Regions from separate parts of the Homo sapiens genome. Here region 1 is linked to region 2. The links are contacts of gene promoters, found by promoter capture Hi-C in blood cells and fetal thymus (Javierre and others, 2016). All regions are on one chromosome and are shown on one strand. The core of a region is centred on a gene start or on the middle of the fragment in contact, and the rest is flanking DNA. Distances in the headings are between cores, read along the strand shown.

Region 1 (2,755 bases), core at 221-2,720, 520 kb before region 2:
ATCGTGAAGGAATGACACCAAGCTAGAAAACCAAAATAACTGTCAAGCCCTATTTTCATGGCACCGGCCAACTGTTTCGAAACATGTTTAAAACTCAGCCAAAATAACTTGTGAATATTGTGTTTTGTGATGAGAGAAACATCGCCTGACATCATAAAAACAAAACAAAAATAAATATGTAAAGACAGTCAAACAAAGAATAATATCATTATGTGATGAGTCATTGAGTTGAACTTTTAACATCAAGTTGGTTTTGTCTAAATCTACAAAATAATGAGCCAGAAAAGTATCAACTGCATCTCCGGCATATATTCATCCTTTTCTGACCCCCATACCTCTCTGAAAATGTGAGTCGTCTGCATTAAACAAAAATCTATTATTTTCTTTGTTAAAAAAAATAACTAAACTTGGGATTTGGTTTAAAGTGCACAAGAGAAATGGCTACTCCTTAAAAATTAAGCTTCCAGGCCAGGCGTGGTAACTCACGCCTGTAATCCCAGCACTTTGGGAAGCCAAGGCGGGTGGCTCACGAGGTCAGGAGATCGAGACCATCCTGGCTAACACGGTGAAACCCCGTCTCTACTAAAAACACAGAAAATTAGCTGGGCGTGGTGGCAGGCGCCTGTAGTCCCAGCTACTCGGGAGGCTGAGGCAGGAGAATCACTTGAACCCGGGAGGCAGAGGTTGCAGTGAGCTGAGATTGCATCACTGCACTCCAGCCTGGGCAACAGAGTGAGACTCTGTCTCCAAAAACAAAAAAAAAAAACCAAGCTTCCAGAATAAAACCTAAAGGTATCACCTTCTGATTAACATTTGTTGTTCTGTTCCTTTTCCTGGTAACGTAGCCACACCAGGGTTGCACACAAACACCCCTCCACCTGCTTTGGTCTTTGGAGTCAGCACCCCAGTGTCAGCACAGGATGATCTGTGAGAGAACAATGTCAAACGCAAGACTCCCTTACATGACGGAGGAACCGCGGAACCATTCAAAGAAACTAGAAGCCTCAGCTCTCTTCCCTCCAGAAAGGCACAGCCCTTTCTTTTGGGAGTGGGTGGACTTTCAGCTTGGTGCTTGCACACTGAAAATGAGTAAATACCTGGACCCTTTAAGGACTCAATTCCACCATGGCAGTGGAAATAAAAACAGCGCAGGAGTTTGGAGATGGTCCCAATACTCACCCACCATGGTCACGTTGCAGTTTAATGTGATGATGAGAAACCCTAGCAAGTCCACGCCTTCCATGCTTCCAGAATGTCCCAGGCTCCAGGCTGCAGGAGACACTGGAGGGCTGTGTTCTCCAAGGAGGCGGATAAATGTCCTTTAACTACATAAGACTTAAAGGTGTGAGCTGGAGATAAGAAAGCAAAGGTCTGAGCCAGGAGTAGGAGGTGGGTTTTTCTGTCTCCAAGTTGAGACGGCCCTAAGCCGTTTGCCTCTGAGGCGAAACATTCCTGACAACTGCAGTGACCAGCAGAGCAAGCAGCAGTCATCTCTTATTGTGGGCTATTCTTACTCGCCTGGGATATTCCCGGCCTGTGGCAGCGCTCATATGTCCCCACCAGGACAGCCAGATGCTTCAGGATATAATAGCAGCAACTACTTTTAACCCAAGAAAGAAAACTTCTGCTAACTAGCCAAGTAAATTTCTCTATTAAAAAGGCATTTCCTCCTTGAAAACATTTCCACAACCACTTCACTTGTGCAAGAAGCCCTTAAAGTGTTCACGTTTTGTCTTCTCAATCAAGCATGAATCGCCATGCCACCATCACACGAACCCACAAGGATCTCGCCCTTATTCTGAATTCCTGTGTCATTGGTGCAGGCAGAAATCTGAAACTCAGTTGGGTGTCCCAACTTTAGACCGTGACTTGGTTATTCTCCTGCTGCTTCCTGTGCAGTGAGTGACAACTCTTCGCTTGGAGACAAAAGCCTGGGTGCAAAGCCCGGGGCAGCCCCCTACTCACTGGGGAAGTCATTGGATCCTTCCAGATAGCCTCATCTTGCAATAAGGAGAATCATGCCATTCCACTTGCCATTTGTGGGAGGCTTATGTGAAATGATGGTGTAGAATAAGAGCAACTGGTGTGAAGTGGGTGTACGACAACCCATATCCGTGGGATTTCAATCCCTAATTGGCCTCTACGACCTTCACAGATTACATCTTCCCTTTGTATCTCCCAGCCCCATCTAGCCTGGAGCTGTTCCCATTGAATCTACTTAATAAATGTCTGTTAAATCTGTCATGAAATATCACGGTCTGGACCTGCTGACATCAATCACAGTTGCGTCAAAATCCTATCGCTGCAGCCACCTTCATATCTGGGAAGAACCCATCCTGCAGGGTTGGGGATCTATGATCAGGGTGGAAATTGTAAACTTTAAAAGGAATGATTTCAATTTTCCATGAAAGCTATTCTTTATATCCCCATCTTTTCTTCATTTCTGATCTATTCTTGACTTTAGTAATATCCCTAGAAAGATTCCCAGAAGAGTGCAACAAAGCTACTTTCATCTTTGCTCACATGACATGCTCCCATCCACGGAAAACGTTTTGACCCCCTTGAAAGGAACAGTGGTTTTGCTATATTTTAGTCAAATGCTTCGACATGAGCAAGGAAATTTGAGAAATTGTAGTTAAGTAAAAATATTGAAATAGTCACAGGGTGTAAGTATAAAATAAAGGAGAATTTGTCTCCTAATAGACTGCTCATGGTATTGGCTTTAAAAAAAAAATGAAATATCAGGAAAGCAATT
Region 2 (2,873 bases), core at 47-2,546:
CCAAAAAAAAAAAGGACCAGACATATTGCATTGTTAACAAACTAGTTGTTAACCTTATGACCTCTGTAAAGGTCTCAGGGATTTCCAGAGGTCTGGGGACCACACTTTGAGAATCACTAGATTAAAAGGGGGAAAACATGGGAGGAAAAAAAGGTCACATAATGGAAACATACTGTTGGATTGAATTTCGTATATAAAAACCCTTTACTGAAATAAAGAGTAGAGACTTCAAGTACCAAGAGAAGCAGATTAGAAGAGGAGGAAGGCTCTAGGGACTGATCAGGTCTGGAGGCAGGGTTTTAAATGGGCCTTGAAGGGTTCGTGCAGTTTGGAAGGAAGGGATGGGAGGGAAAAGCTTGCTGAATCGTATAAATGAACAAGACCCTGATGGTGAGCTCTTGAGGATATGAAAGGCAAAAAGCACTAAGGCCGGGCTTTTGTTCCTCTGTGGCCCTGCATATATGAGGAGGTGATGAGTAATTCTATATTTTTATCAGCTTTACCGTTTAAAACTCCAAGGGAGGAAAACCCTTCAAACTGATAGGCTTGGGGCTTGGTGAAGGTGGGGTATTAGTGAAAAAGATGTGAAGTTTCTTTATCGAAAATACATGTATGTCCAAGAAATTCTCTGTAGATAAAAACTAACAAGAAAAAGAGTTTGTCAGAGAGGAAAAGTAGTTTTGCTAATTTATTTTTGATCATTTGCAAAGCCCATGGAAGTGTGTGGCAAGAGGATTGTGGTGTCTTAGGATATTCACATAGGTCTGAAACAAGGAAAACATACTTCTGTTGAAAGCACCATTCCAACATATTGTTATTAGCAGTCCCTGAACTAACGGGTAGTGGGTGGGTACTGTGTCCATCAGCTCAGCGAACCGCAATTGCCTCATTGACAGCAAGCCCAGCAAGGAATCACTTGGAATATTAATTTCCGTGGCCTTTCGCAATCACACGAAGCTTGGCTCCCTGCGCTTGCCGTAACGCGGCCTGTACCATTGCTTTCCGGGTGGCGGGGGGGATTTGGCAGCAGCGGAAGAAGGAGACCGGAGGGTGTGTGTTGGGCAAAGCCGGAGGCAGAGGAGGACGATTGTTTTACGGATCCCGTGATCGGCCCGTCCTTCTCCCCTTTCCCCCCCTCCCTACCGCCCCTGTCCCGCCGGGGAGCGGCGGCGGCCTTGGACTTTGCTGTCTTTCCTCGCGGAGACAGGTGAGTGTCGGCGCGCGGGCTCCCCGGGCTTCGCTCCCCACCCCCCGCGTCTCCGGGGCCGGTGGCGGCGGCCGGCCGGGGAGGCGGCCTCGGCGCACAGTAATGGCAGCGCTGTGAGCAGGGGAACGCGAGCTGACAGCCGCCGCCGCCGCCGCCTCCGCCCACCTTCCTCGCCGGGGCTTCGTCTTTCACTCCTTCGGGCTGCCTCCCCCTCCCCTTGTCCCCTGCCCCTTGCCCTGCTTCTGCAGAAGGTAACCCCGCTGAGGGTCGGGGAGCCGGGCTGCAGGCGCCGGGAAACTTCCCTTCCCGGTTAATGGGTGGCGGGGCTGGGGCGGAGGAGAGGAGTTGGGGGCGACGAGGTGTGGGGAGAGGGATGAAAGGGGGAGGCCCGGGAAGATGGTATCCTGTAAGTGACCTCGGCTCCCCAGAGCGCTGACCCGTAAGCCCTGCCACCCCCTGGACTGGATCCCGGGCCTCCCCAACCCGATCTTGGCCGCCTCTCCCGCGGCCCCATTTTCCTTCGAAGGAGGGAAGGTGAGAGTGCGTGTATTCTTCTACATATTTACGTGCTCACACGAATACACAACTCTGTGTGTTTGTGTGTGTGTGTGGGGGGGGGCATCTCATGCATCCTTACCCCGAGTGTTTTCACTTTTGTTTCCGCAGACTGCAAAGATTGATAGCTTTGGGGAGGAGTATCCTACGTGCATGCTAGACTTCTTGTCTCAACCCTTAGGGTCTGGTGAAATAAGATCCTCACACGCTTTCTAGCACTTGCTTACCCTCTAGAGAGTCTGGACCATTCCCTACCATTACGTGCATGCAAATAAAACATCTGTGAATTGCAGACTGTTATTAATGTTAAGTCCACATCTTTGCCCCATGGATTAATATTAACAGTTGAAGGCCAGTACCCTGGGCGTTTAAATTTTGAAGATAAGATGCAAAATATTAACGTTCGCTATAGATTGTGACTGTTCAACATAAACGTCTTTGAACTAGACCTGGCCAAGCCTACCTTCGTAGTAAAGTATCGGAAATAATCACTTTGATCTGATTGACAACTGACTACATAATAATCGCTTAAAAACATTCAAAACACTGTTGCCTACCCTTTAGAATCTTACATTCCTTTTCAAGACAGACACATGAACAAATGAGCTATACTTTGCTTCTTTTGCCCTTATACAGTATCTGGAAGATCCTTCCAAAAGAGTCGCGTGAGATAAGAGAAGTACACAGTTTTTTTGTTTTGAGATGGAGTTTTGCTCTTGTCACCCAGGCTGGAGTGCAGTGGTGCGATCTCGGCTCACTGCAACCTCCGCCTCCCGGGTTCAAGCAATTCTTCTGCCTTAGCCTTCCATGTAGCTGGGATTACTGGCATGCGCCACCATGCCCGGCTAATTTTGTATTTTTAGTGGAGATGGGGTTTCACCATGTTGGCCAGGCTGGTCTTGAACTCCTGACCTCAGGTGATTCGCCTGCTTAGGCCTCCCAAAGTGCTGGGATTACAGGCCTGAGCTACTGCGCCCAGCCCACAGTGTTTTGAATTACTTGTTTTTTTCAATTGCTGTTTATGAGTTGGGGGAACATTTCTACAATGTGCATGCACATAGCGTGGGAAAAATTCCTTTTCAATTGCTTTTTGAGTATTTGGATGTTCTCC

The links. Contacts are between HindIII fragments. The CHiCAGO score rates a contact against its expected background, and 5 or more counts as called.
Region 1: a contact is called between the fragment with the promoter of GJD4 here and the fragment with the promoter of CUL2 in region 2, in 1 of 17 cell types (total CD4 T cells). The highest score is 5.3, in total CD4 T cells.

The regions. Positions count from the first base shown.
Region 1 is chr10:35,604,056-35,606,810 of GRCh38, reverse strand. GJD4 (gap junction protein delta 4) reads right to left here and starts at 1,470. Exons shown (of 2, transcript NM_153368.3): 1 at 1,180-1,470. The coding sequence starts at 1,243. GJD4-AS1 (GJD4 antisense RNA 1) reads left to right here. Exons shown (of 2, transcript NR_199600.1): 2 at 846-2,249. The HindIII fragment of the contact is 9,701 bases long and covers 774-2,755 here.
Region 2 is chr10:35,088,764-35,091,636 of GRCh38, reverse strand. CUL2 (cullin 2) reads left to right here and starts at 1,296. Exons shown (of 21, transcript NM_003591.4): 1 at 1,296-1,458. RefSeq lists an enhancer at 876-1,015 and silencers at 934-1,122, 1,176-1,375, 1,396-1,525. The HindIII fragment of the contact is 6,346 bases long and covers 960-2,873 here.